Linked DNA regions of Homo sapiens: region 1 is linked to region 2. Evidence: promoter capture Hi-C in human tissues and cell types (Jung and others, 2019). All regions are on one chromosome and are shown on one strand. Each heading gives the region's core, a stretch centred on a gene start or on the middle of the fragment in contact. The rest is flanking DNA. Distances are from core to core; before and after follow the strand shown. Region 1 overlaps TEAD2 (TEA domain transcription factor 2). Region 2 holds the start of KCNA7 (potassium voltage-gated channel subfamily A member 7).

The links. The method cuts DNA at HindIII sites, captures the fragments that hold promoters and counts their contacts. A contact is called where the count stands out against the background at its distance.
Region 1: a fragment that was not itself captured here is called in contact with the fragment with the promoter of KCNA7 in region 2 in 1 of the 25 tissues and cell types used here (dorsolateral prefrontal cortex).

The regions. Positions count from the first base shown.
Region 1 is chr19:49,343,779-49,348,350 of GRCh38, reverse strand. TEAD2 (TEA domain transcription factor 2) reads left to right here. Exons shown (of 13, transcript NM_001256660.2): 10 at 988-1,161. Among named protein-coding and RNA genes, the nearest start is that of CD37, 11 kb to the right of the region's middle. The HindIII fragment of the contact is 5,882 bases long and covers 1-4,572 here.
Region 2 is chr19:49,069,690-49,074,622 of GRCh38, reverse strand. KCNA7 (potassium voltage-gated channel subfamily A member 7) reads left to right here and starts at 1,924. Exons shown (of 2, transcript NM_031886.3): 1 at 1,924-2,592; 2 at 3,745-4,933. The coding sequence starts at 2,038. The coding sequence ends at 4,560. RefSeq lists a silencer at 406-565 and enhancers at 2,032-2,531, 2,532-3,033. The HindIII fragment of the contact is 9,200 bases long and covers 1,814-4,933 here.

The DNA.
Region 1 (4,572 bases), core at 646-3,145, 270 kb before region 2:
GGCTTTGTGATGCATACTAGGAACTTGGAAAAGATTTTATTTCTGTGCTTGAGCTTCTCCTGGGCTAGGATGGAGTGGGCCGACTGTTAGAAGAAACAGCTCCTAACTCTTAGGGACTGAATGCCAGATAAGTTGCATGTAACATTTCAATGTAGGTTCAGCAGGAGCCTTGGACTCAAGTGATTTGGGGATCCAGGCTCCTTCCATTTTGTGGCTCTGCCATTTTCTAAGGCTTCAGAATCTGCTGATGGAGTCTCTGCATCTGGCCAGCAGATGGAGGAAGGGAGAGAGTCAAGATTGTGCAGGAGGTTTTAGGAATCTGACTTGGATGTGTCGACTCTCAGGCCTGGTCACATCCCATTGGCCAGAACTTAGTCATGTGGTCACACCTAACTGCAAAGCGGCCTGGGAAATGTAGTTTCACACTGTGTAAAGGAACCAGGATTTGTGAACACGTAGCAGTCTCTGCCACACCATATAAACATCAATCAAAACATCAACCACAAGACCTCTGTGGATTCCCATTCATTCACTCTTCCATCCATTGACCATTTATGAGCACCTGTTCTATATAGGACCAGGCCTAGGGGGTGTGAGCTTTGCCCTGGGGCTGCTGGGGAGCTATGGGAGGGCCATGACCAGGGGAGGGTCAGGGGCAGGTCTGGAGCCACATGAGGGATGAACTGGAGAGGCGAGGTTGGAGGCTGGGGTGAGGGTGGGAGGCCTGAGGTGAGGCTGAGGCAGTGAGGATGGAGTTGGGGGAGTTGTGGCAGGGAGTTGGGGACTGTAGGACTGCAGGGCTGCAGGGGACTGGGTGCAGAAGCAGGAGTGGGGACGATGGGTGGCAGTCAGGCCCAGTGCTGGGTGGACTGTGTGGAACAGCTGGCCAGAGCTGTGGGGATGGTGACGGCATTTGGTGGGCTCAGGCAGCACAGGCTGGAGATCCAGCTCACCTCCGACTTCTCACCCACGGCCAACCCTCCTCAGTACCAGAGGCACCTGTTCGTGCACATCAGCCAGCACTGCCCCAGCCCCGGAGCGCCGCCGCTCGAGAGTGTGGACGTCCGGCAGATCTACGACAAATTCCCTGAGAAAAAGGGTGGCCTCCGAGAGCTATATGATCGTGGCCCCCCCCATGCCTTCTTCCTGGTCAAGTTCTGGGTGAGTTCTCACAGCAAAATCAAAAGTGCTCACAAATCCTGTGGTGTCCCAGCAAAGGCCTCTGGCCCTGAGAGAATCTGTCGCGGGCCCTACCAGGTCAGCCTGGGACTTACCAGTCAGTCCTCATGGCTTGGAGTGTCAGCCCCCTTTGCAACAAGGAACACCGAGGAGGCCAGCCCCCAGGGTGGGTTGGAGGTGTCTGGGCCTCCCTGGATCCCACTAGACATTGCCACATGTAACTAATACGGTGAGTTACCTGGCCATGTAGCTAATAGGGTCCTGGGCATGGGCTTGCCATGTTCCAGGCTTCCCTGTGCCCCACCTGACTGCACCAAGCCGTGCTGCTAAGGAAAGACCCCTCCCCGTAGCCAGTGGACTTGTGGAGACTGGTTTCTAAAGAGGGGACTGATGCTTTGCATCAGTTTCACCAGACCTTGTTGCTAGAGAATGTCTGGCTTTGAGGAAGTGATGAAAAGAGCCATGGAGTGGCTTTGCCAAGTCCTGTATTCATTTATTTGTTTATTTATTTATTTTTGAGACATAGTCTCACTGTCACCCAGGCTGGAGTGCAGTGGCTGTATCTTGGCTCACGGCAACCTCCGCCTCCTGGATTCAAGCGATTCTCCTGCCTCAGCCTCCCCAGTAGATTGGACTACAGGCACCCGCCACCACATCTGGCTAATTTTTGTATATTTAGTACAGACGGGGTTTCACCATGTTGGCCAGGCTGGTCTTGAACTCCTGGCCTCAAATGATCTGCCCACCTTGGCCTCCCAAAGTGCTGGGATTACAGGTGTGAGCCACCGCACCCGTCCAAGTCCTGTATTTATGTAGCAATCATTTATTGAGCACTTCCTATATAGACGCCTGGTGTCAGCTGCTATTTATATGATTGGGACTAAGAGGGCCCATCTTGCGTGTTTCTTAGGGCTACTTGGTTTGGTGTCCAGTATGATGACTAACACTACAGGGGTTCAATAAATGTGTTTTATTTTCTTTTATTGTTTTTTTTTTTTTTTTTTTTGAGATGGAATTTTGCTCTTGTTGCCCAGGCTGGAGTGCAATGGTGCGATCTCGGCTCACTGCAACCTCTGCCTCCTGGGTTCAAGCGATTCTCCAGCCTCAGCCTCCCAAGTAGCTGGGATTACAGGCATGCACGACCATGCCCAGCTAATTTTTGTATTTTTAGTAGAGACGGAGTTTCGTCATGTTGGCCAGGCTGATCTTGAACTCCTGACCTCATGTGATCCGCTCACCTTGGCCTCTCCAAGTGCTGGGATTACAGGCATGAGCCACTGCACCTGGCCTAATTTTTGTATTTTTAGTAGAGACAGGGTTTTACCATGTTGGCCAGTCTGGTCTCGAACTCCTGACCTCAAGTGATCCACCCACCTTGGCCTCCCAAAGTGCTGGGATTACAAGTGTGAGCCACAGTGCCTGGCCTGGGCTCAATAAATGTTGCCTGGATGTTTAGGGGGTGCTAGTTCTTATAGTAACAAAGGTGGTGGAGGGATCTAGTCTCTGAGAAGAAAGCCTGGCTAGGTGTGGTGGTTCACTCCTATCTTCCCAGCACTTTGGGAAGCTGAGGCGAGAGTTTCGCTTGTGTTCAAGAGTTTGACACCAGCCTGGGCAACACAGTGAGACCTCAACTCTACAAAAAATGAAAAAAATTAGCTGGGTGTGGTGGTGCGCACCTGTGGTCCTAGCTTCTGTGGAGGCTGAGGCAGGAGGATCACTTAAGCCTGGGAGGTGGAGGCTGCAGTGAGCCAAGATTGTGCCACTGCCCTCCAGCCTGGGTGACAGAATGAGACCCTGCCGAAAGAAAGAAAGGAAGAAAGGAAGAAGGAAAGAAAGGAAAGAAAAGAAAGAAGGAAAGAAAGAAGGAAGGAAGGAAGGAAAGGAAGGAAAGGCCTGCTGAGGGCCTGAACTTTACTGTTCTTGCTGGGAGTGTTGTTGTTCTGGAGCTTGCTGTTCACGGTTCTGGAGCTTTCTGCCATGTGAAGCAGAAGCCTGAAACTGCTCTGGGGATGTGCAGCTGAGGGCTTAGACATTGTTGGGGCTTAAGACAGGCCTTATCAGGTCCCAGGACTGGAGAGCCACCCCCTTAGGAAGCCCAGCTGCTGAAGGGGTTCAGAGGAGCAGCTGGTAAGGTCTTTGGTTTTGCCACGGTGAGAGATGGAGTCGGGCCCCTGAGAAGACGGACCTGGCACAGTGTTAGCAACTAAAGTTAGGAAGAGGAAGAGGTGCGCCTCGCAAGGAGGTGACTCAGACCAAAGGTGTGATGAGCTCTTAGGCTTCCTTAGGCCCCACTTGGCCTAGTGACACTTGGCCAGCTGTCTACACACACTTGGCCACTGGGGTCATGGAGGGAGTCTGACCTCTCAGATTTGGCCGAGGGGGAAGTGCTCTGAGGAGGAGTCAGGCCTCCTCAGGCTCCGTGAGGTCCCGTTGCTAGGGAGTAGCCACTTGCCTTAGCAACCAGAGTGAGAGGGGCTTAGAGGGAGGTATTCATCTTGAACTGGTTGCTAAGAAGTAACTGCCATAGTAACCAGGCCCTTGGAAGGGGCTGAACTCTTGAGTTGCGGGCTTCAAGGGAAAAAGGTTGAATTGGCTGGACACAGTGGCTCATGCCTGTAATCTCAGCACTTTGGGAGGCCTAGGTGGGTGGATCACCTGAGTTCAGGAGTTTGAGACCAACCTGGCCAACATGACAAAACCCTGTCTCTACTAAAAATACAAAAATTAGCCAGACATGGTGGCGTGCGCCTGTAATCCCAGCCACTTGGGAGGCTGAGGCAGGAGAATCGCTTGAACCCGGGAGGCAGAGGTTGCAGTGAGTCAAGATCGCGGCATTGCACTGGGCAACAAGAGCGAGACTTCATCTCAGAAAAAAAAAAAAGAAAAGAAAAAAGGTTGAAATTGAATTCCAGGGCTCCTTTGGTTACTGGGGAGACAGGGCCAAGACTGTTTTGGGGACCCAGACTTCTTCAACGCTGATGGACGGTGGATCTTCTCCAGAAACCAGCCCTTGGAGAACTTTGAAAGCCTGACGCGGTGGCTCATGCCTGTAATCCCAGCACTTTCGGAGGCCAAGGTGGGAGGATCGCTTGAGCCCAGGAGTTGGAGACCAGCCTGGGCAACATGGTGAAACCCTGTTTCTACAAAAAATACAAAATATTAGCTGGATGTGGTGGCATGCACCTGTGGTCCTAGCTACTCAGGAGGCTGAGATGGGAGGATCACTTGAGCTCAGGAGGTCGAGGCTGCAGTGAGCTGTGATTGTACCACCACACATTGCCTGGGTGACGGAGCAAGACCCTGTTCCCCCCCCCCCAAAAAAAAAGACAAACAAACAACAAAAAAACAAAACAACACTGAAGAATCAAGCCGGGAACTGCAGGGGTAATGGTA
Region 2 (4,933 bases), core at 675-3,174:
ACTGCACTCTAGCCTGGGCGACTGCAAGACTCCGTCTCAAGAAAAAGAAAAAGAAAGAAAAGGCCGGGTGCAGTGGCTCACGTCTGTAATCCCAGAACTTTGGGAGGCCAAGGCAGGCGGTCACGAGGTCAGGAGTTCGAGACCAGCCTGGCCAACATGGTGAAACCCTGTCTCTACTAAAAATACAAAAATTAGGTGGGTGTGGTGACGGGTGCCTGGAGTCCCAGCTACTCAGGAGACTGAGGCAGGAGAATCGCTTGAAACTGGCAGGCGGAGGTTGCAGTGAGCTGAGATCACGTCCCCACACTCTAGCCTGGACAACAAGAGGGAAACTCCTCTCAAGAAAAAAAAAAAAAGAAAGAAAGAAAGAAGAAAAGAAGAGAGAAGGAATGGAAGGAAGGAAGACAGGAAGAGAAAGAGTGCCAGGATTAGCAGGGCGTTCGAACCCTTAGTACCTACCTCTCTCCACACCCCCAGCAGAGGGCGACCAGGACTTCTTTCCTGGGAGTCTCAGTGATCAAACCCCTCCACTTCCCCCAAGCCCATCTGATGGAGCTATTTTTATGCAGTGTCACCGGACACCAGTGGCTAGAAGGCCACCGTCTTGTCTCTGCGCCCTTCAGTTCCTGAAAATGACCCTGTGGCATCTCCCCGGCCCACACCCCCAACCCCCGCCCGTTCCGGCAAGACCAGACTCCTTTTGCCAGAGTCATAGCCGCAGCTCAGGTCCTGCTAGGTCTCAGAAAGTCTTGCGAAGAATCCAGGTGGAGACTCTGGAGCGAACTCTGGGGAGAGAATGGGGCGTGTGTGCACATGCTCAGTGGTTTGCAGCTGCCAGAGTGACCCTAGGATGGGACAGCCACCGGGACTGTGGCAGCACCCACATGGAGTGATGGTCAGGGAGAGATCAAGAGATATGACTCCGGAGACCCTAAGTCCTCTAGAGACCCCAAGGGGAGACCCAAAGGGGAGCGGCCGAGGAACCCTGAGACAGAGACATGGAGGGCTAAGAGATAATGAGCAAAAAGAGACCTAGAGAGGAGAGACAAAGAGACCAAGAGAGACAAGAGATAAACGGAGACAGACCAAGAGTCAAAATAAAGGCGGAGACCGAGACGTAGAGGCTGGCAGAGGGACCCATACAGAGGCCCCCAGAACGACGAATCTCAGAAATAAATGACCCATAGAGATACTCAGAGATACATCCCAAAAGAGACAGAGACCCAGAGGGGACAGCCGGACACAGACACACAAGAGAGTGAGAGACAAAGGTGCAAACAGGGCGACTCCAGGCCGGGCGCCGTGGCTCACGCTTGTAACCCCAGCAATTCGGGAGGCCAAGGAGGGCAGATCACTTGAGGTCGGGAGTACCAGACCTGCCTGGCCAACATGGTGAAACCCCTTCTCAACTAAAAAAGAAAAAAGAAAAAAAATTAGCTGGGCTTGGTGGCGCCTGTAATTCCAGCTACTAGGGAGGCTGAGGCACGAGAATCGCTTGATCCCGGGAGGTGGAGGTTGTTGCAGTGAGCCGAGATCGCGCCACTGCACTCCAGCCCGGGCGACAGAGGGAAACTGTGTCTCAAAAAAAAAAAAAAAAAAAAAGACAGAAAGAAAGAAGAAAGAGAAAAGAAAAGAGGCGACTGCAACTGAAGCCTGATTCTGACGAAACACACGCACACGGAAACTTGGAGAGACGCAGGACAGGATCCCGGCGGCAGAAGGACGGAGAGAAAGGGGACCCCGGGACGGGAAAGGCGCAGAGCAGGCGCGGGCGGCGGCGGCGGCGGGGCAGGGCAGGGCGGGCGTCCCGGCAGAGGGCGCGCGGTCGCCCTGTCGCCCTCCGCCCCGCCGGGGTCACAGTGCCCCCTCCCTCGCGCCCTAGCCGCCCTGCCGGGCTATTTTTACGCGCGGACACCGGACACCGGACACCGGGCTGGGGCGGCGGCGGCGGCGGCCGAGGCGGCCGAGGCGGGGCCGCACCGGGGCCGGGCGTCGGGGCCACACGTCGGTTCGCGGGTCGCCGGGGCTGCGCGCGCCATGGAGCCGCGGTGCCCGCCGCCGTGCGGCTGCTGCGAGCGGCTGGTGCTCAACGTGGCCGGGCTGCGCTTCGAGACGCGGGCGCGCACGCTGGGCCGCTTCCCGGACACTCTGCTAGGGGACCCAGCGCGCCGCGGCCGCTTCTACGACGACGCGCGCCGCGAGTATTTCTTCGACCGGCACCGGCCCAGCTTCGACGCCGTGCTCTACTACTACCAGTCCGGTGGGCGGCTGCGGCGGCCGGCGCACGTGCCGCTCGACGTCTTCCTGGAAGAGGTGGCCTTCTACGGGCTGGGCGCGGCGGCCCTGGCACGCCTGCGCGAGGACGAGGGCTGCCCGGTGCCGCCCGAGCGCCCCCTGCCCCGCCGCGCCTTCGCCCGCCAGCTGTGGCTGCTTTTCGAGTTTCCCGAGAGCTCTCAGGCCGCGCGCGTGCTCGCCGTAGTCTCCGTGCTGGTCATCCTCGTCTCCATCGTCGTCTTCTGCCTCGAGACGCTGCCTGACTTCCGCGACGACCGCGACGGCACGGGGCTTGCTGCTGCAGCCGCAGCCGGCCCGGTGAGAGGCGGGGCGTGGGTGGAGACGGGCGGGGTTTGGGAGGAGATGGGCGGGGTCCAGAGGGGACCTGGCCAATCATAAGGCGGGGCCAGGGGCTGCGAGGGGTGGGCCAGCCGAAGACAGGGTGGGCGGGAGGCGGGGCCTGAGGATCCGGGTCGGAGGACCTGCCCCATCAGAAGGTGGGGTTGAGGTCAGTGAGAAACCCGGCGTGAAGAGGGCAGGGCCCTTGATGCAAGGGGTAGGAGGACAGGAACCTTAAAAATCACAGCTGAGGGGGGCCAAGGAGAGCCTGAAAACTCCGGAGTCTGTGCGGCTGGGTGGTGAAAGCCAGGCCCTGAATAACTCCAGCTGAGGGTGCTGGAGCCCGAGGGGCGACAGTAGGAGGAATCTATGGAAAGAAAGCCAGGTTGAGGGGCCAGAGGAGGGGGCCTAGGGCTCGGCTTGCAGAGAAGGTCTTTTTTTTTTTATTTCCTGTGAGACAGAGTCTTGCTCTGTCGCCCAGGCTGGAGTGCAATGGCGCTATCTCGGCTCACTGCAAGGTCTGCCTCCCGGGTTCAAGCGATTCTCCTGCCTTAGCCTCCCAAGTAGCTGGGATTACAGGTGCAGGCCACCACGCCCGGCTAATTTTTGTATTTTTAGTAGAGATGGGGTTTCACCGTGTTGGCCAGGATGGTCTCTATTTCCTGACCTCGTGATCCGCCCGCCTCGGCTTCCCAAAGTGCTGGGATTACAGACGTGAGCCACCGCGCCCAGCCGCATTATACTCTGGGCTGGGACTGTGGAGGGCAAGGAAAAGCTAGGCACAAGGTGGTGGGGCCAGGGCAGGGATGCTCCCCATCTAGAAAATCAACACTGGAGGCGGGACTTTGAGAGAGAAGAGGTTGCACCCTACTCAAACATGAGTTCCCACGCATGAAGGGGCAGGGACCACGTCTCCAGCCACCCACCAGGTCAGGCAACCAGAAAGTCAGCGGCCCAGGGATGATCCCTGGGATCCTGGGAGGAAGTCTGGGATAACCAGGTCACGGAGGGCCTTGGCGCAGCGGCTACTGACCAATGTGTAAAGAGGAGCTGGGTATTTAAATGATGATTAAGGCTGTCCCCGTGTCCTAGCCCCAGCCTGACCCTCCCTGAACACTTTCCTCCCTGCAGTTCCCCGCTCCGCTGAATGGCTCCAGCCAAATGCCTGGAAATCCACCCCGCCTGCCCTTCAATGACCCGTTCTTCGTGGTGGAGACGCTGTGTATTTGTTGGTTCTCCTTTGAGCTGCTGGTACGCCTCCTGGTCTGTCCAAGCAAGGCTATCTTCTTCAAGAACGTGATGAACCTCATCGATTTTGTGGCTATCCTTCCCTACTTTGTGGCACTGGGCACCGAGCTGGCCCGGCAGCGAGGGGTGGGCCAGCAGGCCATGTCACTGGCCATCCTGAGAGTCATCCGATTGGTGCGTGTCTTCCGCATCTTCAAGCTGTCCCGGCACTCAAAGGGCCTGCAAATCTTGGGCCAGACGCTTCGGGCCTCCATGCGTGAGCTGGGCCTCCTCATCTTTTTCCTCTTCATCGGTGTGGTCCTCTTTTCCAGCGCCGTCTACTTTGCCGAAGTTGACCGGGTGGACTCCCATTTCACTAGCATCCCTGAGTCCTTCTGGTGGGCGGTAGTCACCATGACTACAGTTGGCTATGGAGACATGGCACCCGTCACTGTGGGTGGCAAGATAGTGGGCTCTCTGTGTGCCATTGCGGGCGTGCTGACTATTTCCCTGCCAGTGCCCGTCATTGTCTCCAATTTCAGCTACTTTTATCACCGGGAGACAGAGGGCGAAGAGGCTGGGATGTTCAGCCATGTGGACATGCAGCCTTGTGGCCCACTGGAGGGCAAGGCCAATGGGGGGCTGGTGGACGGGGAGGTACCTGAGCTACCACCTCCACTCTGGGCACCCCCAGGGAAACACCTGGTCACCGAAGTGTGAGGAACAGTTGAGGTCTGCAGGACCTCACACCTCCCTAGAGGGAGGGAGGGAGGGCAGGGTGGAGGGCAAGGCTGGGGGGAGGGGATTGGGTTTAGGAAGAGCTAGGTTAAGTCGTAACGAGTGGGGAAACACTGAGTCTTGTTGGGTCTTGGGTTGTGTGGTTTGGTAGCTCCTGTGGGTACCTCCTGAAGCAGCAGCGAATGGCAATGGGTTGTGTTGTGTTAATGAAGACTCAATTGGTTCATATTACTCTGAGTTGTGCAAAGCTCATGGAGCCTTTTGGGGTAGTGTTGAGATAGGTTTGGTCGTATCATTTTGTGAGTTTCCTAGGTCAGTGTTGGGTTTGGTTGGGTTGTGAGTCTGGGATAGTGTG